5 separate regions of the Homo sapiens genome follow, and all the other regions are linked to region 5. The links are contacts of gene promoters, found by promoter capture Hi-C in blood cells and fetal thymus (Javierre and others, 2016). All regions are on one chromosome and are shown on one strand. Each heading gives the region's core, a stretch centred on a gene start or on the middle of the fragment in contact. The rest is flanking DNA. Distances are from core to core; before and after follow the strand shown.

What was found. The method cuts DNA at HindIII sites, captures the fragments that hold promoters and counts their contacts. A CHiCAGO score of 5 or more calls a contact.
Region 1: a contact is called between a fragment that was not itself captured here and the fragment with the promoter of PIP4K2C in region 5, in 2 of 17 cell types (naive CD8 T cells and M2 macrophages). The highest score is 6.1, in naive CD8 T cells.
Region 2: a fragment that was not itself captured here is called in contact with the fragment with the promoter of PIP4K2C in region 5 in 1 of 17 cell types (naive B cells); the score reaches 5.2 in naive B cells.
Region 3: the fragment with the promoter of CYP27B1 here is called in contact with the fragment with the promoter of PIP4K2C in region 5 in 4 of 17 cell types (naive CD8 T cells, total CD4 T cells, activated CD4 T cells and 1 more); the score reaches 7.0 in naive CD8 T cells.
Region 4: a contact is called between a fragment that was not itself captured here and the fragment with the promoter of PIP4K2C in region 5, in 4 of 17 cell types (naive B cells, M2 macrophages, erythroblasts and 1 more). The highest score is 5.6, in naive B cells.

The regions. Positions count from the first base shown.
Region 1 is chr12:57,396,543-57,402,626 of GRCh38, forward strand. All of the region lies in intron 1 of R3HDM2 (R3H domain containing 2), which reads right to left. Among named protein-coding and RNA genes, the nearest start is that of R3HDM2, 31 kb to the right of the region's middle. The HindIII fragment of the contact is 1,559 bases long and covers 2,884-4,442 here.
Region 2 is chr12:57,838,716-57,844,886 of GRCh38, forward strand. All of the region lies in intron 1 of CTDSP2 (CTD small phosphatase 2), which reads right to left. CTDSP2-AS1 (CTDSP2 antisense RNA 1) reads left to right here. Exons shown (of 2, transcript NR_188077.1): 2 at 3,544-5,046. Among named protein-coding and RNA genes, the nearest start is that of CTDSP2-AS1, 4.7 kb to the left of the region's middle. The HindIII fragment of the contact is 239 bases long and covers 3,886-4,124 here.
Region 3 is chr12:57,765,547-57,771,708 of GRCh38, forward strand. It overlaps CYP27B1 (cytochrome P450 family 27 subfamily B member 1), which reads right to left and starts at 1,532. Exons shown (of 9, transcript NM_000785.4): 1 at 1,301-1,532; 2 at 461-651. The coding sequence starts at 1,495. It overlaps METTL1 (methyltransferase 1, tRNA methylguanosine), which reads right to left. Exons shown (of 6, transcript NM_005371.6): 2 at 5,548-5,711; 3 at 4,226-4,410; 4 at 4,019-4,132; 5 at 3,757-3,858; 6 at 2,925-3,605. The coding sequence ends at 3,450. RefSeq lists an enhancer at 5,418-6,162. The HindIII fragment of the contact is 11,205 bases long and covers 1-2,415 here.
Region 4 is chr12:57,783,631-57,789,642 of GRCh38, forward strand. It overlaps TSFM (Ts translation elongation factor, mitochondrial), which reads left to right. Exons shown (of 6, transcript NM_005726.6): 3 at 2,533-2,661; 4 at 3,410-3,532. Among named protein-coding and RNA genes, the nearest start is that of TSFM, 3.8 kb to the left of the region's middle. The HindIII fragment of the contact is 1,074 bases long and covers 2,713-3,786 here.
Region 5 is chr12:57,588,550-57,594,162 of GRCh38, forward strand. PIP4K2C (phosphatidylinositol-5-phosphate 4-kinase type 2 gamma) reads left to right here and starts at 2,643. Exons shown (of 10, transcript NM_024779.5): 1 at 2,643-2,914; 2 at 5,476-5,573. The coding sequence starts at 2,741. RefSeq lists enhancers at 2,251-2,300, 2,381-2,882 and a silencer at 2,481-2,740. The HindIII fragment of the contact is 11,010 bases long and covers 1-5,613 here.

The DNA.
Region 1 (6,084 bases), core at 2,413-4,912, 190 kb before region 5:
CCCAGGCAGGTGGATCACGAGGTCAGGAGTTCAAGACCAGCCTGGCAAAGATGGTGAAACCCCGTCTCTACTGAAAAAACACAAAAATTAGCCAAGTGTGTTGGCGGGCGCCTGTAATCGCAGCTACTCAGAAGGCTGAGCCAGAGAATTGCTTGAACCCAGGAGGCAGAGGGTGCAGTGAGCTGAGATCATGCCACTGCACTCCAGGCTGGGTGACAGAGTGAGACTCTGTCTCAAAAAAAAAAAAAAAAAGAGTAGTCTAGGCTGCGCATGGTGGCTCACACCTGTAACCCCAGCACTTTACTTTGGGAGGCCAAAGCAGGTGGATCACCTACTGTTAAAAGTTCGAGATCAGCCTGGCCAATATGGTGAAACACCATCTCTACTAAAAATACAAAAAATTAGCTGGGCAAGGTGGCATGTACCTGTAATCTCAGCTACTTGGGAGGCTGAGGGAGGAGAATGGCTTGAACCCAGGAGACAGAAATTGCAGTGAGCCAAGATCACACCATTGCACTCCAGCCTGGGCAGCAAGAGCAAAACTCCATCTCAAAGAAAAAAAAAAAATTGTCTAGAACTGAGCAAACAAAACTAGGATCTCTCTTAATAGATGAGAAGTAGAAGCAAAAAGAGGCCAGAGGCAGAATTTTATTCTGTGAATATAAGTAGGCATTACAAGTACATAATTTAGTATCTCTTCACCCTAAAAGCAGTAGTTATTATTATTACAAGACCCTGAGGGCTGGCTGTTTAATCTATTTCAGGAGGCCACCATTGGAACCCTTAATATGCCCAAGTCAGTCTGTATTCTTGGAAGCCTTCAAAACACCCAAGCCCTACTGTGTTCTATGCTAAAGTGAGAATATCCCTAACTCACCATTTTGTTTTATATAACCCTGTTCCACAAATACCACATCATGAAAGTCTGCCCTCTTGATATCTTAACAAAGGTTTCTATGAAAAAGTTCTAGTTTTTTTTTATAGCCCCTGCACATCACGGTTTTGACATTAGGAATGTGGAGTAGTTGGCTAAAGTTGCGAAGGAATGGCCAGAGGATATTGCCTTTCCCCTTTTCACCACTAGTGCTGGTCCTAAAACACTCCTCCTGTGGTAAACTTTTTCCCATGTAATACCTTGTTCCCCCCTATGCAAAATATTTACTAGTTTCCTTTCCCCATTGGCACTCAAGCCATTCCCAGATACATCTAATTTTTAAGTGGGCACAGTGGGTTCACACTAAGAGCTTTGTCACACCAAGAGTTCACTCTCTAATTCTGATTAAGAGAATCAAGAGCAACATAATTTTGACTTTCTTGCCCTAATTGTAATCATATCATAATTAAAAGTGAAATACTGTGGGCCGGGCACAGTGGCTCACGCCTATAATCCCAGCACTTTGGGAGGCTAAGGCGGGCGAATCACGAGCTCAGGAGTTCGAGACCAGCCTGGCCAACACAGTGAAACCCCGTCTCTACTAAAAATACAAAAATTAGCTGGGCATGGTGGTGGGCACCTGTAATTCCAGCTACTCAGGAGGCTGAAGCAGGAAATCGCTTGAAACTGGTGGTGGGGGTGGGCAGGGGAGAGGGGCAGAGGTTGTAATGAGCCGAAATCATGCCACTTCACTCCAGCAGCCTAGGCAAAAGAGCGAGACTCTGCCTCAAAAAAAAAAAAAGAAAAAGAAAAAGAAATATTTTATTACCTTGTTCGTATCTGTACCTGCAATTCTAAACAGTGTCTGACACATGATAAGCACTGAAACAGTTTTCTAATTGTTTGGTGCATTTACAAAGCTAAGAAGTTACTTCCTCTGAGGTAAACTTGGGTTTCTTAAGGTGTTTAAAACTTATTTGTATAGCCAATAAAATGGCCAAACTGTCAAAACCTTGTTCTTTTCTTCATTCTAACAATCTGCCTTGTATCCTCAGAAATCTCTCTTCCTTTCTCTCTCTTTTTTTTTTTTGAGATGGAGTCTTACTCCGTCACACAGGCTGGAGTGCAGTGGCGTGATCTCGGCTCACTGCAACCTCCACCTCCTGGGTTCAAGCCATTCTCCTGCCTCAACCTCCCAAGTAGGTGGGATTACAGGTGCCCGCCACCATGCCCGGCTAATTTTTGTATTTTTAGTACCGACAAAGTTTCACCATGTTAGTCAGGCTGGTCTCAAACTCCTGACCTCAAGTGATCCGCCCACCTCAGCCTCCCAAAGTGCTGGGATTAGAGGCGTGAGCCACCGCACCCAGCCCTCTCTTCCTTTCTCAGAAGGTAAAATTTACACTTGGAAAATAAGATGGCAGTCATATCTGGCAGTTAACTGTTCTCTGCCTCTGTGGGGCCCAAATCCAATCTTCTGAGGCAGCAGCAATTGTCAAAGATCTGGCTACCAGCATAGCATTGAAGAGTGCTTCACAGCTTAGAACCATTTAGGCTAAATTGACCCAAGTAGCAAACACCTATAAGAGAATCACTGCTGATAAGACTTCTATGAAGGATTCCAAATGTCTTAAAGATAACTTCACAGGAGTGGAAAGGAGCTGAACTCAGCCATCTGACTACTGAAGCGTTCTATAAACCTTTAGGCCAGGCACGGTGGCTCACACTTGTAATCCCAGCACTTTGGGAGGCCGAGGTGGGTGGATCAGGAGGTCAGGAGTTTGAGACCAGCCTGGCTGGCGTGGTGAAACACCGTCTCTACTAAAAATACAAAAATTAGCGGGGCATGGTGGCGTGCACCTGTAATCTCAGCTTCTCGGGAGACTGAGGCAGCAGAATTGCTTGAACCCGAGAGGTGGAGGTTGCAGTGAGCTGAGATCATGCCACTGCACTTCAGCCTGGGCAACAGAGTGAGACTCTGTCTCAAAAAATAAAATAAAATAAAATAAAGCTTTAATAATGACCCCGTCACCAGAAAAACAGACACTTTGTCCTAGCCTTCTAATCAGCTGTATTTAGCAGCCAACATCCATCTTTTGCAATAAAATGCCACCTCTTAGTTCCTATTTCTATCAAATTATCACAGGTTTAGGCAATAGATAAGTCAGAAACTACAGTTAACTTGTCTAGGACCCAAGACAATTAATAAAACTTACTTGGAGAAGCAGCATAGCCTCTAGTCACCTGAAGACAAGTTTTAAAGATCCTAACAACTGGTAACACTTGGGCACACCAAAATGGCTGTAATCTGAAAAACAGCCACATGCCACTTCTAATGGTGTCATTATACTAAAAGTGACCTTCCCCCCTGAAAGTTTTTAAAGTAAGCTAAATCTTGAACAATGACTCCTACTCTTCTCTAAAATAGGAGCTATGACAGCTACCTTAATGGGATGCCCGATAAACTCAGGGCAAGGGGCTCACTGTGCTGACATTCTCACCTCACCTAGGACTTCCGCTGATTCATCCTGATGGACTGACAAGTCACTGACTTGCCAAAGAATCTTGTTTATTTCACATATAAAAACACTGTCTACTCCAGTGTGGCGATTCCTCAGGGATCTAGAACTAGAAATACCATTTGACCCAGCCATCCCATTACTGGGTATATACCCAAAGGATTATAAATCATGCTGCTATAAAGACACATGGACATGTATGTTTATTGTGGCACCATTCACAATAGCAAAGACTTGGAACCAACCCAAATGTCCAACAATGATAGACTGGATTAAGAAAATGTGGCACATATACACCATGGAATACTATGCAGCCATAAAAAAATGATGAGTTCATGTCCTTTGTAAGGACATCGATGAAGCTGGAAACCATCATTCTCAGCAAACTATCGCAAGGACAAAACACCAAACACCGCATGTTCTCACTCATAGGTGGGAATTGAACAATGAGAACACTTGGACACAGGAAGGGGAACATCACACACCGGGGCCTGTTGTGGGGTGGGGGGAAGGGGGAGGGATAGCATTAGGAGATATACCTAACGTAAATGACGAGTTAATGGGTGCAGCACACCATCATGGCACATGTATACATATATAACAAACCCGCACGTTGTGCACATGTACCCTAGAACTTAAAGTATAATAAAAATATATATTAAAAAAAAACAATAAACACTGTCTACTCAAGACAACTACCATCCAGACACCTTCTGCTCCTGCAGCAGAGCCCTTCCCTCTCTGACTTCATGGAGCAACTAGCAACAACAAAATACATATGTATATTTCAGGTCAATATTAGTAACTCTCTATAACTAACAAGCCATAAAGGGCTGGAAACAGAGCCCATAAAAGGACCAGAGTGTTAACCCTCAGAAATTGCCAATTTTTCAAAGAGATCAAAATCACCTGGGGAAGAAACAATAGCTTTTCAGCATTAACAGATGTTTGGTATTATTACGGTAATCTGAAAAATAGTTGCTAAGCTGGGACCTGAAAATATCAGTCCCCAGCCACACCAAATAATCACAGAAATATTTAAGTAAGTAAGCTTTGTTCTAACATGAACTTCAAAAAGAAAGACAAGTCAGGGCAATAAAAACAAGCAGAAAACATCCATTTCATTTAAAAAGAATGAAAGAGAGAAAGGGAAGGAGAAAAAGAGGAATAATAAAGAACTATGCCCATGTTTAACATGGCCACAGTTATGTGTAACAATTCCCATAAAGAAGTGCAGTTCGTCTCAAAAAAAAAAAAGAGTGTAGTTCATTTCCCCACCCCTTGAATATGAGCTGGCCTTGTGACTTGCTTCAACCATCAGAGTGCAGCATGAATGACACTGCGACCACCGAGCCCAGGCCTCAAGAGGCCGTTCAGTTTCCACTCAAAACCTCTTGGAACCTAACCATCATGCAAAGAAGCCAAGCCAGCCTGCAAGAGGCCATACCAACCTAGAGGACAGCTCTAGCCCAATGCTAGACATGTGAATGAGGCTATCCAGGTCCAACCAGCCCCTAGCTAACGTGCCAACTGAACACAAATGAGTGAGCCCAGCCAAAACCATGTGGAATAGAGGCAAACTGTGACAGAGTCTTGCTCAAATTGCCAGCCCACTTAAATCATAAACAAAGAATGCAGCTGACCATTGAACAAAATAGATTTATTACGAATGATAAAAATCGAGCTCTCAAGTGAAAATCAGAATTTTGAAAATCATGTAATCACTATGATGAGCTTGACAGTTTCTCAATACTTAAAGACTATTCTGCCAGGCACAGTGGCTCATGCCTGTAATCCCAGAATTTTGGGAGGCCAAGGTAGGTGGATCATTTGGGGTCAGGAGTTCGAGACCAGCCTGGCCAACATGGTGAAACCCCTGCCTCTACTAAAAATACAAAAATTAGCTGGGTGTGGTGGCAGGCACCTGTAGTCCCAGCTACTCGGGAGGCTGAGGCAGGAGATCACTTAGACCCGGGAGGTGGAGGTTGCAGTGAGCCAAGATCGAGCTGCTGCATTCCAGCCTGGGCAACAAAGCAAGACTCTGTGTCAAAAAAATAAAAGAAAAAGTGCATGCACAAGCCAGACACAGTGGCTTACACCTGTTATCCCAGCGCTTTGGGAGGCCGTGGCAGGTAGATCTTCTGAAGTCAGGAGTTAGAGACCATCCTGGCCAACATGGTGAAACCCCATCTCTACTAAAAATACAAAAATTAGCCAGACATGGTGACAGGCGCCTGTAATCCCAGCTACTCAGGAGACTGAGGCAGGAGAATCTCCTGAATCCGAGAGGCAGAGGTTGCAGTGAGCTGAAGTCCCACCACTGCACTCCAGCCTGGGCAAGAGAGCAAGACTCCATCTCAAAAAAAAAAAAAGTGCATACATATCCCACAATACTCTGCATGCATAAACAAAAATAAGGAAATGTTTTTGGAGATAAGAGTCTCACTCTGTCGCTCAGGCTGGAGTGCAGTGACGCCATTTCAGCTCATTGCAACCTCCACCTCCTGGGTTCAAGAAATTCTCATACCTCAGCCTCCCAAATAGCCATGCACCACCATGTCCAGCTAATTTTTATATTTTTAGTAGAGTTGGAGTTTCACCATGTTGGCCAGGCTGGTCTCAAACTCCTGGCCTCCCAGCCTGACCAAAATGGCGAAACCCCATCTCTACTAAAAATACAAAAATTAGCCA
Region 2 (6,171 bases), core at 2,755-5,254, 250 kb after region 5:
TTGAGTTCGAATCTAGGCTCTGCCATGTGTAAGGTATGCAGCCATGGGCCTCAGTTTCTTCATCTGCAAAATGGGAAGACTACCTATTTCTCAGTGTCAGAATTGCAGGGAGCTCAGGGAGTGTCCTGGTCCTAACAAAAGCTTTGTAAGTGTCAACTGCTACTCATTAAGTGCAAAGTACTTTCATACTCTTACCTCAGTCTCCATCTCAAAATGTTCACATTAAAGGGACCATAGAGATTTCTTCTAACTCATTTCAGAGGTAGTAACAGGGCCAAACCGGAAATGATGTTTTCCGGGACTCCACAAAAACGAATCAGTCGCACACACACATACACACTCATTGAGGCTGGCCAACCAGTTCCTCCTTCATATGGCTGGCCTCTGCAGAAGGAATGGAAGGAGTCTGCCAGGGAGGCACCCATCTCCAGGGACATTCTGCTGCTCCCCCCACACCCCTCAGCTTCACCTATGACCAGCCAAGCCGTATAGGTGAGTCCACTTGAGAAAGTACTGATCTAGAAGTCAGGAAACCCAGCTCTTGCTCCAGTTCAGCTTTTCAACAGTTCCGTGGCCTTGCTAGGGCACAATTCTCTGGGGTTCAGTTTCCTCATAAGCCAATCTGGAAAGGTTTCCCCTGCATGGTCCCTTAAAAGGTGGCTTCACCTGAAGCATGCACCTGAATCATGAACTCAAAAGCACTCTAAAAGGTGAAATGTTAGGCCGGGCACGGTGGCTCAAGCCTGTAATCCCAGCACTTTGGGAGGCCAAGGCGGGCGGATCATGAGGTCAGGAGATCAAGACCATCCTGGCTAACACAGTGAAACCGCGTCTCTACTAAAAATACAAAAAATTAGCCGGGCGTGGTGGCGGGCGCCTGTAGTCCCAGCTACTCAGGAGGCTGAGCCAGGAGAATGGCATAGACCCAGGAGGTGGAGCTTGCAGTGAGCTGAGATCGAGATCGCGCCACTGCACTCCAGCCTGGGCGACAGAGCAAGACTCCATCTCAAAAAAAAAAGTGAAATGCCAGACAATGCAAATGTCTGGCTGACACTAGCCATGTACCCTTGGGCAAAGTCCTTCCCTCTCCCTGTGAAAGTTTTCCTTATCTGTAAAGTGAGGTTAATTCCTCTTATTGGAAAGGAAAAGTTGTCAGGAGAACTAAGTGAGATACGAGATATAAAATGCTAGGAATAGTACCTTGCCTATGGCAAGTACTCTATAAATATTGGCTGTAACCATTACTGGGTAAACAAGGATGGATCATTACTCTGTCCATTTACTCTGAAAACTTTAGGACTCCCCTTGAAGAGCCACAGATCTTTAACATACAGTAAAACGGGACCACCAAGAGGAATTTTCCTGCTCGGGGCAAAACAGGCAGTTGGGGCCACTGCTGTGCCTACCTGGCTCTTCTCCAGGGGCACCTGTCAGAGCCACAAGGAGCATTTGGAACACATGCATGCCTGACCCACCTGCCCATGCGCTGATTCAGCAGATCCCAGGTGGGGGGTCTGTATTTTTAGCAAGTGTCACAGGAGACTCTGATGTGTGTCCCTGGCTGAGAGCCAGTATCTACCGGTTGCCAGGGTCTCTGACTAACCCAGGGCTAGAAGGCAATTCAGCCAAAGTCCCCTTGGCCCCTCTCCCCACCGTACCTGACTGGCTCAGTGTTTCTGCAAGCCTTAGAGGACTCATGCCTAGGATCCAGTTTTCTTCTCTAGGGGTAGTTCTATGTGACGTGAGTCAGAAAACCTGGGTCTGCTGTCTCTACCTGCAGGCCCCTGTTCCTGTGAAAGAGGGGTCCTAGCTCTATTCTGCTGCGGGAACAGAAAAGCTGGGATCTACTATCCAGGAAGCCTTCCGCAGGCAATTTGAGCCTTTCCATGAGTCTGCTTGGCTCTCACTGGGATTGGGGCCATATTTGTTCCCTGGGAACAATGCAGATGGGAAAGTGCAAATTCAAGAGGATGGAAAAAGCTGTGGCAAGAAATAAAAGAAGGTATAGAATAAAAAGAGAGTAAGAGCAAAGTCTGATTTGGGGGGATGGGGGTGGGGGAAGGACTAGAGCACCTAGGAGGGAAATGGAAATGTCAGATCCACTCAGAGATCAGGTTCAAGGCTAACTCCTAGAATAGCTAACATAAAACAGGGCATACACACTTTTGCCTAGAGGGAGGCTGTGGCGCTCACTGGAGTACCCTGTGATAACAGATCCTGGTGCAGGCATACTCAGACCTGAAGGGCTGGGCATTTTGCCAGACAAAGAAACTCCATTCTATTTGGTCTCTGGTCCAGAGATGCTTCCAGTTTTAAGTCGTCAACTTATCCACTTTAATTTCTAGTACTTTCTTTGTAAGATTTGCGTGTTAATGTGCTCATCTGCATCCCAGTTCAGAACTACTACTCCATTTCAGAAAAGTGAGGGAAATATGTCAGGGCCACACCCAATCCCACGTCCCAAAGACAAGCGAGTTAATTCCATGCTTCCCAGAGCTGGCCAGACTAAGACAAGATGAAAAGCAGATCAATGCTGCTTTTGTACTTTCTCAATGTTGTACCCCAAAACCACAGGAGCAAACAAATAGCTTAAGAACATCTATTTCTCTTCAAACCCCATTTTCTTTTTCCCCCTCTTATTAAAATTACCTAAAAGAAACCTCAATCTCTCTGAATTCATTAACTCTCAAAGCAGACAGTGAGAGAATGTAGCATACAGTTGTCCTGAATATTCGTTATATCCATATTTGAGAACCTCTAAGGAAGTTTAGACTTTAGAGACTCACAGGGGGCACATGCCTGGCCTTCTCCCACCCCCAGATGCCCAGGCACCAGACAGAATGGCCAAAGTCCCACAGCCCAGGCAGATAACAAATCACATCCCAAGTCACATGACACAAAGAAGGGGTCTGTGCAGCAAGGCTGTTTGTAAGCCTAAGAGGTTGATCCTTCCAGAAGGCCCAAGCCCCCACAATCAGTGTCCCCTCTGACCCCCGGCCACCTGTCTTGAAAAATAAAACCCACAAGACTACGTGCTGTTTACACTGTGTCCTTGGGGGAATGGAGGAGGGCGAACAGAGTAGTCTAACTATGTAAAGAGGGAGGACATTAATATTTATCAAGCACCTACTAAGTACCAAGTATAATAGAAGGGTAGATATCATTATTACTACTTTATAGATAAGTTACTCAGAATACTAAAGTGATTTATCAAGTCTCATTGCAAATAGGAAAAGAAGGTATTTGAACCCAGGCCTGAAGCAATTTTGCTTCAGAAACAATGCTTTGAAGTAACAATGTAAACTTTAACCACCATCCCTGACCCTGGTCCCCACTCTGTCCAATCTAAGAACCAAACTTACCATGATGGGAATAAAAGACAATACCCCAAATTACCCAAAAGCTAGCAGAAAAAAAAAATTGTAGGAGGAATTGGAAGGGAAGCTATGTATTGATATGTACACACATACACACAATCCCATATATATTTACATATTGTCTTTCTTTTCCATGCTTATTTACAAACACTTTAATTCTTCACAGGTTGGGAGCATCAATTCACGTTGGCTAGAAATGTGACTTCTTTAGTATTTACCATTTTAACAAAATCCATGATAAGGGATTTGGAAGGTCCCATGGAAAGGATGAAATGACACCTCTCTGCTACCCAGTTTCTTTAAGACCTCTACGGTTGAGAAGAGAGGACAAAGGAACACCCCCACCTCTGCCATCCTCCGAGGGATTTTTCACAGCAATTCCAGTGCTGCTCAGTGGAAAGCTCTGCAAGTCAACTGCAAACCCCCAGCCCCAGATGTTAGGCATTTACAAACTTTGTTGCTGATTTATCAGCGCTCCTCTGCAATTTTGGGGACAGGAGCAAACACAAGCTTAAGTCACCACGCAGGCTGCAACCCTTACCCAAAGATGGGGGAAAAACTCCAAAGGAGATGCAGGAGGGAGCCTCAGCAGTCACTGTGAGAGCACAAAGAGGCCAAGACCCAGGGTAGGCAAAGGAAGGTGAGAGGCACCAGCAGGGCAGGAGGAGGAGCCAGCTATAAACATGCAGGCTTCCCGCCCCCTGCATAGCAAGCTATGGAAGGAAGCTCCAGCAAGATTCATGTCTAAGCTTTTCAAGTTAAAGGCTTGCCTACATCTACAGTGAACGGTGTCTGAACAACTTTTTGAGGGAATAAGGCAGAATTTCTCCCTTATGCGGATAACAAAAGAGCTAGCCATCCTGAAAACTTGCCACATCGTAATTTTCAGAGATGGTCAGTCTCTCAGAAGAATCCTTGCAATTAGCTATCAGAACCTGTCCAGTTCGGCATGTGAGAAGGTAATCCAGGGCATCATCGAGAGGAAGGGGCATCAGGATTCATGGACAACAAAAAAATCTCTGATTCCTCCAAAAGGCGTGTGGGTCACTGAGCTCCGGAAGAGGCTGCCTCCACCAGGTCTCATTTCACGTTGGGAGGTTACAGCGTGGGTCTTGTTTCCTTGGCTTTCCCCCATCTAATCCCAAAGCCAAGGTCACAACCTCTTAGCAATGGGGTGACAATCTCATATAGAGCTGCAATCAACAGCCATTCTTGCCAAGCTGATATTAACATTTCTTTTTTCTTTTTGATGTTACACACAATCCTGTCCTTGCTGTACCAGAAAGCCATTTCACCCATCTGTCTGGGAAGATGATCCAATTTTGGTGCTTTTATCATCAATGCTTTCAGCAACTTTGTTCTACTTCCCCTACTGTAATTACTTTTGAATCATCAACGCACCCAGACAGCCTTAAACCTCAGAGAACAGAATGCTAAAAAAAGAAAAAAAAAACCCGCAATGGCAAGTAACTTCACTAAATAGCCACCCAAGCTAGGAGCAATTTGTTTCTTTCCAGAAATTTACTTATTAATAATAAGTACCTCACACTCCTTCTTCCCCTTTTTCCAAAGGCAGGCAAGGCATGGAGATGGGATGTTGTGGAGAGGACGGAGTGGGGAGAAGAAGGAACTCCAAAAGGAGCCAATTAAAACATCTGCTTCCCCAGTCCCCCAGCTTTTGTTTTTTGTTTTGTTTTGAAGACGTAGGTTTTGTTTGTAAATGATGTGGGACTCAGAAAGTTGGTTTAGTGGTTGCTGGGTGCCTAAGCAGCCCAGGAAGAAAGTCTGTCTTCTCTGGAATGCAATCAAATTACATGGGGAGGGGCCGGGCGCGGTGGCTCACGCCTGTAATCCCAGCACTTTGGGAGGCCGAAGGGGGCTGATCACCTCAGGAGTCGAGACCAGCCTGGGCAACTGGCGAAACCCCTGTCTCTACTAAAAAATACAAAAAAATTAGCCAAGCGTGATGGCGCGCGCCTGTAATCCCAGCTACTTGGGAGGCTGAGGCAGGAGAATTGCTTGAATTTAGGAGGCGGAGGTTGCAGTGAGCTGAGATTGCGCCACTGCACTCTAGCCTGGGCAACAGAGTAAGACTCCATCTCAATTAAAATAAAAAATTACATGGGGAGGGAGAGACCCAGTGGCTGCTGGCTTAAACCACACACACAAAAAAGGAGAAACATTAACTCCAAGAAAATCCAACACCAGCAACTTAACACTGTCAAGCCAGTTGCTTTGCTTTCTGCTGTTATCTATTCTGTAGCCTGCCATTCACCCTGGTGGATGAAACTTCCAGCTCTGATTTCTAAGATGCCCCGGCGCAGTCCAGCTTTCCCTTACTCCTCGCGTGGCCCCACGATGCCCAAGGCACACTCCCTGCAAGAGAGTCCCTGCAAGAGAGGAAGACCTAGTGGGGAAGCACAGGGCTCCTCCCCCTACTCATCACCACTGCCCCCTCTTGAATCCCCCCACATCTAGGTTTCTTCCCCTCTGGCTAGCTCTTAGGGTCTTTTCCTGGGATAAAAAGGGAGTGGGAAGAGTCAGGAGTGAGCTATAAACACACGCAGGCTCCCTTCCTTTTTCAGCCATCAGCACAGTTGAGCAGCCAGCAGAGGCGGTGAAGTTGCTGCCTGGGTCACAGCCTGGTTAGTGATGCAGCCAGGAGAGCAGAAATCATGGCAACACCGAGGTCAGGGAGGCCGGAGCCTTCTCGGGGGTTGGGATCTGAGTAGGCAAGGCCATCCCTTCTCAGGGCAGGCTTATTTAAAGTCCGGCCAGTGATGCAAGAGGAACA
Region 3 (6,162 bases), core at 282-2,781, 180 kb after region 5:
GACGGGACTGGCTGCAGTGAAGGAGCGCGTTCGGCTGCGGTGGCCAGGAGAGGGATTGCGTCTGCCCCCTTGGGGTACGGAAACCTGCACCGGCCTGCGCCTGTCTTCCAGCCCCCTTCCTCTTTACTCATTTCCTGCCCTCAGGGGCCGGGGTTCCCGGGTAACTTGAGTCACAGAACCTTACATTCATTCCATCCAGATCCTTGTACCCTAGCCCAATTCCTCCGGTTCCCCCAGTTCCCAGGATTCGGGCCTCAAAGGATAAGGAGGTAGGCGGGGAGTGAGGTTGGGGCTCAACCTGAGTGTGGGTGAAGCAGACTGGGATGGGAACCCCAAGATGCCCAATGGTAGAGTGGGACAGCCGACCTCCCACCATGCCCCCAGATTGATAGTTTCGGGACCCGCAGCAGGAGAGGGCCGCTGCAGGGCGTCTGGGCTTCTGGGGGCAGAGAAGACTCACGCAGTGAGCAGTCCGCAAGCCCGCTGGCGGCAGCGGCGGTGCTCCGTCCAGGGCGAGAAGCTGCAGCGCTCGGGCCGGGGTCCCTCCTGTCGCAGCAGCTCCTCGACGAGTGCAGGGGCAGCCACGTACACGGTGCGCACTGTCCCAAAGCTGGCTAGCCACACCGGCCCGAAGTGCGCGGCGCCCTGCACCTGGGGGAGCGGACACAGCGGACACTTGGATACCTGGGCGGGGACTTTCAGCTTGACCTGTGCCCACGCCAAGGGCGTTGACTGGGCTTGGGAATAGGGAGCTTCTGCTCTTTCTCGGGTGCCCAACTAGTGTATGCCTTTGATACTGCAAACTCCTCCTCTCTCATTTCCCATCCCTAGAAAGTTTGAGTGTGATGGGCAAAACCGGAACTTTGTGCAAGGCAGACATTCAGGACCTCTCTGATCATCTCGGTCGAGGAGAAATCTCTAAAAGTTCCATGTCTGGACTGTCCATCTCAGGACGAGTCCTCAGTGAATGAAAAGGAACCCATGTAGCTTTAAGCCGCAAGCAGGCGGAGGGTACTGCCCACTCCGGCCTCCCCCTCCCGCGCACTTGTACTTTATCTGCAGGATCTCCACACCTCAGGACAGCGAGAAGGCGCTTTCGCAGCGCCCTCTGCTAAGAGTCGGGACGGGCTCTGCCCGAGTGTAGCCACACCGCCCCCAGCCTCAACTCGCCTTTTCCTTATTTCATGGGCATCCGTTCTCTCTGGCTGTCCCACATTTGCTCTGCACTAGTCAGTCCTTTCTGACGCTGTCAAAACCAGTTTCCCCAGCACTCTGTCTCGGGAAAGGCGTCCCTTCCTACCTGCAGCTCGTGTAGCCTCGACAGCCCCCCCTTGCAGAAAAGTTCGGCCAGAAAGCTGGGCGTAGAGGGGCCTGGGATGTCTGCCAAGCTCCGGCGTGCTGAGTGGTACTCTCGGTAGCCTAGGGAGGCGCCCAACTCGGGCGCCCAGCGGACGCGATGGAACACTCTGGAGGCGTACTTGAGGGTCTGGGTCATGGTCTGGTTCAGGGTGCTCGCGAAAGAAAGCGCTTCTCCTGAGCATCATATCTCAACCCCTATTTAACCTTTGGGTGAGGTGATGACGCCCCCTCTCCAAGCTCCTCAGCCAATCCCTCCTCCTGAGTGGTCTGTGCTGGGGATTAGCACCCAGGAACAGTAGGCGGGGCTGGGGCTGACTTCACAACTCCCTTGGGTCTCATGTTGCAATGACCCTCATGGGAGGGAGGGCCTAAGATTTTCCTCCTGGGAGAGTGCCTTTGTCTAGGAGCCTCAAAGTCTCATCCTAGGAAAGGCTATAAGGCTTTTTAGTAGGGACTAGGTGACCAAGCTACACTAGTCAGTCTCTGATATTCCCACTTCTACCAGTGAGCCCAGCCCCTTTAGGCCCATCCTCAGGAATTCCCCATCTTTCAGCTCCTCCAGGAAGGGAAGCAGGGGAGGCACAGCTGTAACTGTCCCCACATTCTTGGCTTAGTGGGTTGTATCTTCTCTGCATTATTTTCCTGCACTAGCCACACCTCCCCCTCCTCCTGTACCTAACATATACTGGGCAGATGGCAGGTGGGTTAATGGGCTAAAATGGCTCCTAGAACCTCCATCTTTCTTTCTTGAGGATAAGGGGGTCTCTTGGGTATACAAGCCCCCTCCTTCCAGACATGGGAATTTGGGGCTTGAGAAGCAGAAATGAAACTTTTTGTACATTAGTTAAGTTCAGAGATTGTCTGTGGGGTGTTAGAGGAGCTAAATGGATGTGGATGTTCTAATTCCCCAGCTGACTCGGTCTCCTCTGGGGGGCTTTCTGGTTAGCAGCTCCTTTCTACTTTTAGCCTCAGAATCCTGTGGTGGCTCATGCCTATAATCCCAGCACTTTGGGAGGCTGAGGCAGGAGGATGGCATGAGGCCAGGAGGTTGAGACAAGCTTGAGCAACATAGCAAGACTGTCTCTACAGAAGAAGTTTAAAAATTAGGCTGGGCACGGCAGCTCATGACTGTAATCCCAACACTTTGGGAGGCTAAGGTGGGCAGACTGCTTGAGCTCAGGAGTCTGAGACCAGCCTGGGCAACATAGTGGAACTGTCTCTACAAAAAATACAAAAATTAGCCAGGCATGGTGGCGTATGCCTGTAGTGCCTTGAGAGGCTGAGGTGGATTACATGAGCCCGGGAGGTCAAGGCTGCAGTGAGTTATGATTGTACCACTGCACTCCAGCCTAGGCAACAGAGAGAGGGCCTGTCTCTAAAAAAAATTAAAATAAAAGAATCTCCCACAGTTTACCTCTCTGCTCCTTACTCCCTCATTCCCCACTGCAACTCTATCAGGCTCTGTGCCAGTCAGCTAGCTCTGAAGTTCTGGAATTGAAGGTCAATGTGAAAAAGGAGAGGGTCTCCACCCCCACACCTTCCCAAGGACTCTCCAGAGACAACACTTAGGGAACACAGATTCCCCAGGTCAAGTCTTACGCAGGGAGAGGACAGGAGGATGGTAGAAGGCATATGATACATACTCCACCCTTTCCTGAGAAATGGCAGAATAGGCATGTGTACACATATACATGTTATCCCAGGATCCACAAAGCAAACAGAAGTGGTAATTGAGCCTAGCAAGCAGTTTAGATGGACTACATTCCTCATTCCAGCTGAGGAGAGATCTCACAAGGAGAAAGGAGTGCTAAGGAAGAGCAAGACCCCACAGCCTTCCAAAGATCCCCTATGGTCCAAAGTCCTTTGACCATCTCAGTCAGCTGCTTTGTTTTCTGTTGGCAGTGGAGGGACAAGGTGAGAGGAGCCAGGGGTAGTCATGAACACCAGTGGGTTCTGCCCTGGGCAGCTCCCCACCTTCTTTAAGAGAGTACTGTGTCTCAGCTCCAGCAGTCTCAACTGGGAAGACCCAGGACTCCTGCTCTTTTCTCTAATCCCTGGGAGACGAGGTCCAGCTAAGGTAGAGTAAGCAGTCAGTGACCAGGCAGGCTGGTTTGGGAGGTCACTGCCTGGAGGACGGGATCTTGTATTCTTCGGAAGATGGCTGGGAAATTCTTCCCTCCATTACGTAGAACTTTCTTCCCCTCCTCAGTTGAGGTGCCTAGATGTCCCACAACGGGGTCTTCACTCTGGGAGAAGGAAGGGTCCAATAAGTCCTTGCCCACTGTTCAGACTGCCCCTGGCCCTTAGACACCTATCCCATCCTCCTGGCACTGAGTTAAGTCCAAATACAGAACCACTCTGGAAAGGGCCTCCACCTCCTCTAGGTCCCCTACTCACCAGGTCCTCCAGAGGCACACGCTCAAACAGTGGGTGCTCTTCGAAATGAGTGCACATCCAGTCGTGTAGCTCCAGCACATCGGTTATGGTATACACCAGCCCCTGCATAGGCAAAATCACCCTAGACAGGAGGCTGCATGCAACGTCAGCAGCCAGATGAAGGAAGTGGTGGTGTGAGTCCCTAAATGCACCCCCACTGAATTCTTAGTGAAGGGCCCCTGAGTAGGCCACTCACCCCATCATCCCTCCGATCCCAACTCACCCCAACTCTTAGCACGTAGGCATATTCTGCTAGCAGGGTGGGACTGATGATTCGCCACTTGTGCTTTGTCCGCTTGAAATGTGGGTCGGGGAAGAGGAAGAACATCTTTGTCAGCTGTGAGACAGACACACACCAACAGGGTTGTGAGAGCCTGGCCTCCATGCCCCCACCTGCCTACCAGCCTAACCCACCAGGGCCCCTCCCCACCTGGCCCTTGTAGAAGAAGTTAGGAAGGTGCTTCATGGCATTGCTACGGAGACAGGCGATGTTCTGGAAGCCACCTGCAGGAGCTGCGCGTAGGGCCCGAATCCGGTCTTGTACATAGTCTGAGACCTTCACCCGGATCTCCAGACCCAGAATAAGTGTGTCTGGGAACAGCGGTGACAGTTCCACTGCACACAGAAATAGCAATGGAATCATCAACCATATACTTGTAGGAAGTGCAAAGGGGTCAACACAGGAAAGGAAGCCTCAACCTGCAACTACCAAAGTCCAGAACGGCAAGAGAGGACAGAGATACATATATGGATAGTTTTATGCTCAAGAGGCGGGGGGAGAAATGAAAATTGTCACCAGGACCAGAATGGGAGGGCTGAGGATACATGTATATTTGCCATTGCTTTAGAGTTTTCCACAGTGTTTTCACACATTGTGTTATTTCATCCTTATAACACTCTGTGGTAAATTGTGAAGATAAGGAAACTGAGGGTCAGATATGCCGAAGATCATAGAGTTAAGAAGGGGCAGAACTGGAACTTATTTATTTGAGATGGAGTCTTGCTCTGTCACCCAGGCTGGAGTGCAGTGGCACAATCTTGGCTCACTGCAATCTCTGCCTCCCAGGTTCAAGTAATTCTCCTGCCTCAGCCTCCTGAGTAGCTGGTCTTGAACTCCTGGCCTCAAGTGGTCCACCTGCCTCAGCCTCCCAAAGTGTTGGGATTACAGGTGTGAGCCACTGTGCCCAGGCAGAACTGGACCTTAAACCAAGGTTTTCTGCCTCTATGTACCATGCTCTTCTTCTCTATCAGGCTGTTATCTGTTTGGGAAGATCTAAAAATAGGGAGTGGCTTGGCATGCATGGGTGGGACAATACAGACAATACAAGAGGAACCCAAAAAACAGGAGAGTGGGGCAGAAGGAATGAGATCTGGCGAGGGAGGGGCAAAGGGGAGGGGAGATGGTAGAATCTCTGAGAAAAGACAGTTCAGGATCACTGGCCACAACGGCTAATCTCTGATGCTTGTGCTGACCAGCTCACTGACCCGGAACCTGGCAGATGAAATGGCTCATGTAGGGATTGACGCCAGAAAGGACAACCCAGGTTTTAAGAAGCATTTGAGGCAGCCCCCTCCACTCTCCAGGGCAAAGGTCACAGACCCAGAGTAGAGGGTAGGTGGAGCCTCTCCATGCTGATGTCACCAGTGTCTGGACGAAAGGGGAAAGGCCAATTATGACCCCCCACAAAAGTTGCTGAGGCAGCAGAAGCTACTAGGCCTCTTCTCACCCCAAAAAGAGGGCCTGAGTGTTACCTAACAGGCCACCATAGCCACAGCCTATGTCTGCAAACTCCACTTGGGCCTGAGCTCTCTTTTCTTTCTTATCCTTTGGGTCATCGTGGCTCTGATTTTGAGTGAGTGGAGCGAAGAACTCTGGGTATAGCTCAGACCAGTCCATCTCCTCTGGCTTCACAGGGCTATTGGAAAGAAGACATAAGAAGCATGAGAAGGTTGGTCACACCATTGCAGAAGTGGTACTGTGAGAGTGTGTGGGTGGGTGAGGGTGGGAGGTAAAAGGGAGGAGGGTTTCTCAAAAATTCTGTAACACTGGGCCCTGTGGCCTCTAAGAGGGACAATGGAAACCACCCTTAACTCCCAGTGTGAATCATAGGACCATCATGAGGCCCATAAACGCTGACCTGCCCAACTCCACTTCTGGCGGTTGATGTGACCCTGGCCGGGTAACTGCCCTTTCTGGGGCACAAGTTCCCCTTCTCCCGAGACTGGCTGCCTAATGCACTGGGATCCTACTTTGTGTTTGTGCTCTGCGGGGAGGGAAGGTAAGGTAAGGTGCGGGCAGGATTGTGTATATGTTTGCCTTTTTATTAAATCCAACAAACAAAAGCAAAAGATGGAAACGACATTCTG
Region 4 (6,012 bases), core at 2,000-4,499, 200 kb after region 5:
TGGCCCAGGCCGGCGTGCAATGGCACGATGTTGGCTCACTGCAACCTCCGCCTCCCGGGTTCAAGCGATTCTCCTGCCTCAGCCTCCTGAGTAGTTGGGATTACAGGCGTGCGCCACGACACCCGGCTATTTTATTTTTTATTTTTTATTTTTTTTTGTATTTTTAGTAGAGATGGGGTTTCGCCGTGTCGGCCAGGCTGGTCTCGAACTCCTGGCCTCAGGTGATCCGCCCGCCTCGGCTTCCCAGAGTGGTGGGATTACAGGAGTGAGCCACCGCGCCCGGCTGACTTTAGACATCTTAATCTTTCAGAGTTGTGTAGTTTTTGCCTGTACGGTCATGCGTCTCTTAATAGGAAGATACATTCTGAGAAATGGCGTCGTTAGGAGATTTTGGCTTATGCACATCATAGAGTACCTACACAAACCTAGATGGTATATTGTACTACAACCTGGGCTATATGGAATTGCCAGCTGCTCCTAGGCTACAAACCGTTACAAAATGTTACTGGACTGAATACTGTAGGCAGTTGTAACACAGTGGTAAGTATTGTGTATCTAAACATAGAAAAAGTACAGTAAATAGGCATAAAAGATAAAAAACGATACATCTCCATAGGGAACTTATCATGTATGGAGCTTGCAGGACTGGAAGTTGCTCTGGGTGAGTCAGTGAGTGGTGAGTGAATATGAAGGCCTGCCTTAGGACACTATGGTGCACTATAGTAGACGTTAAAGCACAGTACACATAAGCTACATTACATTTATAAGAAATTTTTTTCTGTGATAATAAGTTAACCTTAGTTTAATGTAACATTTTTATTTTATAAACTTTTAACATGTTTTAAATTTTTGGACTCTTTTGTAATAACAGCATAAAACACATATTGTACAGCTGTACCAAAATATTTTTCTTTATGCACTTTTTCTGTGAGCTTTTTTCTGTTTTTAAAATTTTAAACTTTTTTTGGCTGGGCGTGGTGGCTCATGCCTGTAATCTCAGAACTTTGGGAGGCTGAGGCAAGCGGATCACCTGAGGTTGCGAGTTCGAGACTAGCCTGACCCACACGGAGAAACCTCGTCTCTACTAAAAAAAAATAAAATTAGCCTGGTGTGGTGGCAAGGGCCTGTAATCCCAGCTACTCGGGAGGCTGAGGTAGGATAATCTCTTGAACCCAAAAGGCGGAGGTTGTGGTGAGCCGAGATCGTGCCATTGCACTCCAGCCTGGGCAATAAGAGTGAAACTCTGTCTCAAAAAAAAAAACAACAACTTTTTTTATTGAAATATCTTTTTTTTTTTTTTTTTTTTTTTTTTTTGAGACAGAGTCTTACTCTGTCCCCCAGGCTGGACTGCAGTGGCACAATCTTGGCTCACTGCAAGCTCCACCTCCCAGGTTCACACCATTCTCCTGCCTCAGCCTCCTGAGTAGCTGGGACTACAGGCGCCCGCCACCACGCCCGGCTAATTTTTTGTATTTTTAGTAGAGACAGGGTTTCACCGTGTTAGCCAGGATGGTCTCGATCTCCTGACCTTGTGATCCGCCCACCTCAGCCTCCCAAAGTGTCGGGATTACAGGCGTGAGCCACAGCGCCTGGCCAAAACTTTTTTTAAGTTAAAAAATTGTTTTGTTAAAAACGGAGACACAAACACATACATTAGCCTAGGCCTACACAGGAGTGGCATCATCATTAACACTGTGTTCCACTTTCACATCTTGTCCTGCTGGAAGGTCTTCAGGGGCAGTAACGGGCATGGACCTGTCATCTCCTATGATAACAATGTTTTTTTCTGGAATACCTCTTGAAGGACCTGCCTGAAGCTGTTTTACTGTTAAATTTTTTTATTTTTTATTTTTTTGAGACGGAGTCTCACTTTGTCACCCAGGCTGGAGTGCAGTGGCGCGATAGATCTTGGTTCACTGCAACCTCCGCCTCCCGGGTTCAAGAAATTCAGCCACCCGAGTAGTTTATAAGTTGGAGTACACTCTAAAATAACAATAAAGCATATGTATTATAGTAAATACATAAGCCAGTAACATAGTTGTTCATTATTGTTTCAAGTATCATGTACTATATGTAATTGTATGTGCTATACTTTAATAGGACTGGCAGCACAGACGTTTTCTTTACACTAGCATTGCCACAAACATGTAGGTAATATGTTGCCCTACAATGTTAGGAGGACTACCGTGTCACTAGACAATAGGAATTTTTCAGCTCCATTATAATCTTAGGGACCGTCATCATATATGCAGTCCGTCATTGTCCAAAATATCGTTATGTGGTGCGTAACTGTATAAAGAAAATACAACTGTGTGCCCCATAGGGTTGTTGTGAAGATTAGATTCATCCAAGGCACCAGTTATAATAATACCTGGTATTTGGCATTTAGTGGTAGACTGCCAGTAAATGATAGATTACTTTAGTTTCTGTTAGAGAATTTAGAGAATCAGGAAACCTGAGTATATCTTAGAACTACATTTAGTGCTAAATTCTGTGACTTTGTTGTCTGCTCTTTTTCCTCTCAATTTACAGGCAGAGATCTGGCTCCACAAGGAGGCCCAGAAGGAGGGCTGGAGCAAAGCTGCCAAGCTCCAAGGGAGGAAGACCAAAGAAGGCCTGATTGGGCTGTTGCAGGAAGGAAACACAACTGTATTAGTAGAGGTGAGTTGTTGGAAATTCCAGATACCAAGAACAGCTGTCCCTTGGGTGTAAAGCTTGTAGTAGGCCCTAAAGGGGCCTGTTCTTGAAGAAGAGATCTGTTTAAGAACCATAAAGCGTAGTTGAAGTTAAACTCATGAAACCCTGGGTATTAGTTACGAATTCGTTTAAGTATAGAAATGTACTGGTGTGTTGATGAGAAATGGCCTGACAGTCTAGAATATTACTCCTGAATGTGAGTCTGGCACAGGCTTACACCTTGTCACTGATTGTTTCCTGGAACAGTTAGATTACAAGTTAATTATATTAATTGTTGCTGAATAGAGAGTAGGTATTTTAGAGGAGGTTTGGGGGCCATAATTGGTGAAGAGTCAGATGTGGATTAGTTTAGAGTGAGAGATGGGGATAAACAAGATAATAGCATAAGTGGTTTGGAGTTGGGATGGCTGGAGAATGAGGTGATGATGGTGTGCAGACATAGGTAAGTGGTGAACTTGTGGTGAGTCCTTCAGGACATTATTGAACCATCTTCTGAATATACAGGCTATTGCTAACTCACTGGCCCAACATAAATCACTTCATTCTGTTCCAGGCTAGGAGAGGAAGCGTAGCTTTAAAATTTTGGAGTCATTTTTTTTCCGTTGAGTCTGTAGCTTGTTCTATCAGTATCTTGATTTATTCTCCAGCCTTAAGGCACTTTTGGAAATTATCATTAAACAGCTTATACAGCTATATCAATTTGTTCCCACAGGTAAACTGTGAGACAGATTTTGTTTCTAGAAATTTAAAATTTCAACTGTTGGTCCAGCAAGTAGCCCTTGGAACCATGATGCATTGTCAGACCCTAAAGGATCAACCCTCTGCATACAGTAAAGTAAGTTTGGGATTTGTCTCCAGTGTGCTGAATTTGCTGTCCTCATTGGGTCTTTTGCTGTTCCTATTGTAGACATTCTCATGTCTCATTCTGTTACTTCACATCTCTGCTTAAATGCTATCTCTTTGCATAGAATTACCCTTCCCCCGTTGCTATATCCCCGTGTCATGCTGCATTTAAAATTTTTTATTATGGTGCTTATATATTACATTTTAATTTATCTGTGTGTTGTCTATCTTCCCCAGCAGAATGTAAGCTTTATGAGGCAGGGAATTTGTCTTTTCACTGTTGTATCTCTGGTGAAAGAGAATTGGGCCCACTACTTAGTTGGAGCTCAGTAAATCTTTGTCAGATGAATGAATGAATGATTGAATGCATGCATGCCAGTGAAATGGAGTTAGCCAGATCAAGTGAAGCCATTTGAGGCTTTGTGTTCAGAAATTTGGAATGGTCTTAGGAAAGAATTTCTAAATAAAGAGATTGGAGCCAGGTGTGGTGGCTCACCCCTGTAATCCCAGCACTTTGGGAGGCCGAGGCAGGCAGATCACCTGAAGTCGAGAGTTCAAGACCAGCCTGACCAACATGGAGAAACCCGTCTCTACTAAAAATACAAAATTAGCTGGGCGTGGTGGCGCTTGCCTGTAATCCCAGCTACTTGGGAAGTTGAAGCAGGAGAATCGCTTGAACCCGGGAGGTAGAGGCTGCAGTGAGCCGTTGTACTCCCCCCGGGCAATAAGAGCAAAACTCCGTCTCAGAAAAAAAAAAAGAGAGAGAGATTGGAAAAGACATGGTTTAGGAAAATAAGCATATTCTTATCCATAGAGGGATCAAGGAAAGGAATTATGTCATTCTGCCTTTGACTCAGCCTTATTGCCAAGGCAAAGATGAACCAACCACTCACAGTAATTTTTTTGAGTTTATTACCAACTTTTTTTATCTTCTTTATCCTTCTCTTGAGATGTCTTGGTAAATGTTAATTATTATTGGCATTACATAGTCATATGGAAAACAATGTTGAGATTATTTTTTTTAATTGTATTGAGTAGGTAAGTCACTTGAACTAGAAATTTTAGCTTTGATTTTGCCAGTAAACACCAGTGTACCCTTTTTTTTTTTATTTTTGTTTTTGTTTTTTGAGATGAAGTCTTGCTCTGTCACTCAGGCTGGAGTGCAGTGGTGCAATCTTGGCTCACTGCAACCTCCACCTCCTGGGTTCAAGCAATTCTGCATCAGACTCCCGAGTAGCTGGGACTACAGGCGCCCGCCACCACACACGCCTAGTATTTGTATTTTTTGTAAAGACAGAGTTTCACCATGTTGGCCAGGCTGGTCTTGAACTCCTGACCTCAAGTGATTCGCCCGCCTCCGCCTCCCAAAGTGCTGGGATTACAGGCGTGAGCCACCATGCCTGGCCCCAGTGTACTCTTTTTCCAGATTTGCCATTTATTAACATTTTGCTGTATTTGCTTTATCACTTCTTTTTTTCTTTAAGAGACAGATCTGGCTTTCTTGCCCAGCCTGGAGTGCAGTGGCACAATCATTGTTCACTGCTGCCTCAAATTCCTGGGCTCAAGTGATCTTCCCACCTCAGACTCCTGAGTAGCTGGGACTACATGTGCACACCACTATGCTAGGCTCATTTTTAAGTTTTTTGTAGAGACAGTCTTGCCATCTTGCCCAGGCTGGTCTCAAACCTCTGGGCTCAAGAAATCCACCTGCTTTGGCCTCCCAAAGTGTTGGGATTATAGGCTTGGGTCACTACAGCTGGCCCTATCACTTTTTATATACATGTTATCATCGCCCTTTTTTTTTTTTTTTTTTGAGATGGAGTCTCTCTGTCACCCAGGCTGGAGTGCAATGGTGCCATCTCGCTCACTGCAACCTCTCCCTCCCAGTTCAAGCGATTCTTCCACCTCAGCCTCCCAAGTAGCTGGGATTACAGGCACCTGCCATCATGCCCGGCTAATTTTTTTTGTATTTTTGTAGAGACGGGAGTTTCACCATGTTGGCCAGGCTGGTCTTGACTCCTGACCTCAGGTGATCTGCCCACCTGGGCCTCCCAAAGTGCTGGGATTACAGGCGTGAGCCACTGCACCCGGTCATCATCACTGTTTAAAAAAAATCTTTTTGTAAGTATGTTGCAGACATCAGGATCCTTTATTCCTTCAGCATGTATCTCGTAAAAACAAGGACATTGTTATATAACCACAGGACAGTGATCACATTTAGGATTTTTTTTTCTTTGAGACGGAGTGCAGTGTTGTGATCTCAGCTCACTGCAACCTTCACCTCCTGGGTTCGAGCAATTCTTATGCTTCAGCCTCCTGAGTAGCTAGGATTATAGGCATGCATTACTACTTCCAGCTAATTTTTTTGTGTTTTTAGTAGAAATGGGGTTTTGCCATGTTGGTCAGGCTGGTCTCGCACTCCTGACCTCAGGTGATCTGCCCGCCTTGGCCTCCCAGAGTGCTGGGATTACA
Region 5 (5,613 bases), core at 1,393-3,892:
TTTCAAACACAACAGCCACTGCTTTAGTTCATTATCTCTCCCTGAACTTTTGCAATACTCAAGTCATCCTCCAGGAACATGCCTGAGTGATCCTTTTTTTTTTTTTTTTGAGATGGAGTCTTGCTCTGTTGCCCACGCTGGAGTGCAGTGGCAGGATCTCGGCTCACTGCAACCTTGGCACCCCCCCTCCCCCAGTTCAAGCGATTCTCCTGCCTCAGCCTCCTGAGTAGCTGGGATTACAGGTGTGCGCCACCACGCCCGGCTAAATTTTGTATTTTTAGTTGAGATGGGGTTTCACCATGTTGGTCAAGCTGGTCTCGAACTCCTTGTAGGGTCCAGACCTACTGGGCTTAGCGGGTGTTCTCCCTGTGTGCGGAGACGAGAGATTGTAAGAAATAAAGACACAAGACAAAGAGATAAAGAGAAAACAGCTAGGCCTGGGGACCACTGCCACCAAGACGCGGAGACCGATAGTGGCCCCTAATGGCTAGGCGCACTGGTATTTATTGAATACAAGACAAGGGGCAGGGTAAGGAGGGGTGAGTTGTCCAAGTGATTGATAAGGTCAAGCAAATCACGTGATCATGGGATAGGGGTCCCTTCCCTTTTAGGTAGCCAAAGCAGAGAGGGAAGGCAGCATACGTCAGCATTTTCTTCTATGCACTTATAAGAAAGATCAAAGACTAAGATTTTCACTATTTCTTCTACCGCTATCTACTAAGAACTTCAAAGAGGAACCAGGAGTACAGGAGGAACATGAAAGTGGACAAGGAGCGTGACCACTGAAGCACAGCACCAAAGGGAGGGGTTTAGGCCTCTGGATGACTGCAGGCAGGCCTAGATAATATCCAGCCTCCCACAAGAAGCTGGTGGAGCAGAGTGTTCCCTGACTCCTCCACGGAAAGGGAGACTCCCTTTCGCGGTCCGCTAAGCAACAGGTGCCTTCCCAGGCACTGGTGTTACCGCTTGACCAGGGAGCCCTCAAATGGCCCTTATGCGGGCGTGACAGAGGGCTCACTTCTTGCCTTCTAGGTCACTTCTCACAATGTCCCTTCAGCACCTGACCCTATACCTGCCGGTTATTCCTAGGTTATATTAGTAATGCCACAAAGAGTAATATTAAAAGCTAATGATTTATAATGTTTATACTGATGATTGATAATTGTCCATGATCATCTCTATATCTAATTTGTATTGTAACTACTCTTTATTCTAACTATTTTCTTTATTATACTGCAACAGTTTGTGCCTTCAGTCTCTTGCCTTGGCACCTGGGTAATCCTTTGCCCACAACTCCTGACCTCAGGTGATCCTCCCGACTCGGCCCCGCAAAGTGCTGGGATTATAGGCGTGAGCTACCGCATCTGGCTTTTTTTTTTTTTTTTTTTTTTTGAGACAGAGTCTTGCTCTGTCGCCCAGGCTGGAGTGCAATGGCATGATCTGGGCTCACTGCAACCTCTGCCTCCTGGGTTCAAGCGATTCTCCTGCCTCAGCCTCTCAAGTAGCTGGGACTACAGGCACCTGCCAACATGCCCGGCTTTTTTTTTTTTTTTTTTGAGATGGAGTCTCACTCTGTCACCCAGGCTGGAGTGCAGTGGCGTGATCTCTGCTTGGCGTGATCTCTGCTTGGCGTGATCTCGGCTCACTGCTACCTCCGCCTCCTGGGTTCAAGTGATTCTCCTGCCTCAGCCTCCTGAGTAGCTGGGATTACAGGCTCACGCCACCACGCCCGGCTAATGCCCGGCTAATTTTTGTATTTTTGTAGAGACGAGGTTTCACCATGTTGGCCAGGCTGGTCTTGAACTCCCAACCTCAGGTGATCCTCCCGCCTCGGCCTCCCAAAGTGCTGGGATTACAGGCGTGAGTCACCGCGCCCGGCTTCGTTCTTTCTTGTCTCCATGTCTTTGTATGCTGTTCTCTTTGTCTAGACAGCCTTTTAACCTCTATTCCTGAACTCCACCCACCCTTCCAAACTCAGTAAAGTCTCTATCCTCTTTGAAGCCTTCCCTGACCAGCTACACTTCCTTTCTTTGTATCATTGTCTTTGCTTCATACACAGTTCTAGGATAGCTCATACTTTGCATACTGCAAACTTGATCTCCATTGGCCAGCCAGTGCCATTAGACTCCCAACTACTTCGGGGCAGTCACTGTCCTATACCCTGCTTCAATAAAAGGAAAATCAGCCCCTAGAACAGGACCTAGTACAACTAAGTGCACAATAAATACTTGTTAAATGAATGAATGAATTTCAAGACGCTTGAGACCACTGGTAAGAATTTTGGGTTTCCAAAACCCTCCCCTTCCCAACCCCCATTCGGTAAGAATGCTTTCGCATTAGCATCAGGTCCGAGGTTACTCATTAGAAACTGGGCAAAGCCGGAAGGCGGCCACTTTGCAGCAAAGAAGCCCTAGACCTTGGGAGTCAATCAGGCCAGCCCAGGCCGCACCACGGTCTCCTAGTTGACAGTTCGAGGGGCCTCGCGGGCCGCTTGCTTCGTCAGCTTACAGGGATCCCGCACGCCAGGTGAGCCCACACACTGAGCGGACATTGGGGCAGGCAGGCAGGCGCCGGGGGGCGGGGCCAGCGTCGCCCCGCCCCGTCCTGCCTCGCCCTGTTCGCGCGTCCGCTGTCCGGCCTCCGGTCACGTGACAGCAGCGCAGGTGAGCGCCGCTTCCGGGGTCGGGCGCCTGGATAGCTGCCGGCTCCGGCTTCCACTTGGTCGGTTGCGCGGGAGACTATGGCGTCCTCCTCGGTCCCACCAGCCACGGTATCGGCGGCGACAGCAGGCCCCGGCCCAGGTTTCGGCTTCGCCTCCAAGACCAAGAAGAAGCATTTCGTGCAGCAGAAGGTGAAGGTGTTCCGGGCGGCCGACCCGCTGGTGGGTGTGTTCCTGTGGGGCGTAGCCCACTCGGTGAGAACCAGCCCTAGACCCCCGCAGCCCTGTCCAAACCCCTCGGCTCCGAGGCGTCCCTGTTTCCAGGCTCCAGCCTCCGGAGCCCCACGCAGTGCCACTCCCCTCCCCCGGGTTGTCTTGGTCCCTGCCCACCAACCCCAGGTGTTCCCCCAGCAGGTTTTCTGACTGTGGACTTTTTTCTCCCCAACAGTTCTTTACTGCTCCACTCTAGTTCCACCTTCCCCCCGTGAAATCCAGCTCCCTGTGCTTTGACTCCTTCCTGCCATGTCTAGCTTCAGCCTCAGGCTACGCGGACTGGCCAGGACCGGGCGCAAGCGGGGAGGACATTAGGGGGAGTGGCTTTTTCTCGGGTGGTTGTTGGTGAGAGTGTAGGTGGAGGGTGAGGGGCCGAGGGGAGTAGATGGATGAAAAGGTTCTTTCACTTTGCTTTCCACCTTGCTTCCCAGCCCCGGTCCTTGGCTTTTGAATCTTGGTTTTGTCTCGGGGAAGCTCCAGGTTTCCTGGGCTTTCTAATCCTGCTTGTCCCTTCCTTTCCCTTCCAGAGGTACAGCATTTTAGAGAAGCTACCCCACCCTGAGCTAGAAGTTGCACACTCTCAGGACTTATGTATATATGCCTTTGGTCTTAACTGCATCCTTATCGCTGGCTAGAGCGATCGTGTTTGGTGTAGGTGGTGGCGATTGTTGACCAAAGAGAAGGCTGAGGGGCTCTGTTCCTGAGGTCACTATGGTGGTGAACTTTTGAAGCAGGAAACTGCTCTGGGAGTCAGGAGGAGGCCAAGGAGACCTCCATCCCCTTTCCTGAGGATACCTCAGCTGAAAGAAGCACAGCCATTGCCCATCTTCCGTCAGGTCTGGAGTGGGAGAAATGCAGTTATCTTGAATGTGACACGGAATATTTTCGAAATCAGCGTTCTTGAATATAGTCATGGCTAGGCTGTGGAGATGGAAGTTGTGAGGAAGAATACGCGTTTTGTCACATTTTTAATTTGTGGTAAAGAATTTCTTAACCAAAAATTAAGAATGTTGTTTGTGGCCAGTCGGATCTCTTTTGGATTTGTGGCTCTCTGGGTGGTAAGCTCTTAGTGAGTATTCAGTGGAAGGCACTTGGTATGGGGAAGGCTGATGGAGGTAGGGCTGCCTCTCATATGTACCTTCCAGGTGATTCATCCATTCCCTGTGGGATGCTTAACAGGGAGGGTTTTCCCTTGTTAAGGATTGGGGGAGTTACATGTAAGACCTACCTCAGCTTCACTAGGTATATATACTTTAGCCCCAGCACCCCACCCTCTGCCAACACACATCTACTTCAAGTGTTTGGAATGGAGAAATTCCTTGAACATATGTCTTAGTGATGATTCAGCTTGCTTAGCAGGTGGGGAGGAGGGGGCAGGAGGAGCTATAGCTGAATTTTAGGCTGGGAGTCTCAAGTGGCTTTTTTTTTTTTTTTAATCTGGAGGGATATGTTCTGTCCTCCTTTTCTACTGAGAACGGGAGGAGTTGGTTGCACTGCAGTGTGTGTGATTTAGGTTAGACTGCAGTTCATAGCCTCTGTGGAATGATCTAGTAAGGATAGGCAAGGCATTCATTTATTCAATTAATAGACATGTCAGGATCACTGTGTGCCAAACATTGTGCTAGTTAGACACCTGAAAGATGCAGACGACTAGAATGAGCCCTTGTTCTTGAAGAGCTCACAATCTAGATGGGAGAACTTACATAAACTAGTGATTAGAGTCATGCAGTAACAAAGGCAGGTGAAAGGTACTGTAGCAACACCAAGGAGAAAGCACGGCTCAGGATTTTTAAGTACTAGAGCTCCCTTTCTACCCTGAATTAGCAGACTGCAGATCCTGGGGGCCGAGGAGAGCATGTGATGCTTGTGTCCTTTGGGCTGTGGATTAGTTTGGCTTTAGGGAACAGACGCCTAATGAGCTCATATCCTCTGATTGCCTGCATTCGCTCTGAAATCAGCTGCTCTTCCTTTACCTTACACCTTAGACAGGTGGGGGCCTACTGCAAACAACTGGGTCAGAGTGGTCTAGGAAGACTGGTCCTGTTTGCAAAGAGATGCCTTTTGCAGGATATGGACATTTATCCTTTTTGCTGTGGTTGGCCCCACAGAATCCCATTAACACTCTTGTGCATTTTTAAAATGCCTTTTTTTTTCTTTTTCTAATGGAACATGTAGCTGCCTTGAGCTTGCAGAGTTTTTTTTTTTTTTTTTTTTTTTTTTTTTTTTCTAGAATTTCTCACAGCTTTAAAAATAGTCCTGAGTTGCTTACAGGGTTAGCCTAATATAAAATGACTGTTGTGAGCATGAAGTTCCATGGGGGTGGGCGTGTTGGGGGCTGTGTGTGAGGGTTGCTTACTGTAGTCCTTCTTGGGCAGCAGAAGGGTTAGACACATTCTCTCACTTCTGTCAAGCATATGCATAGCCAGTGTTTTTAAAGGAATGAGGTCTGAGTGGCCCTTGCATGACTGCTGCCCAGACACAGTGTATGGGTAGCTCTCCACACCCTTCTTCATGGCTTCCCTATTCATGGTTTGGCTTATCAGATCAATGAGCTCAGCCAGGTGCCTCCCCCGGTGATGCTGCTGCCAGATGACTTTAAGGCCAGCTCCAAGATCAAGGTCAACAATCACCTTTTCCACAGGTAAGTGATGATCCTTGCCATTCTCATGTCAACCTTCCCA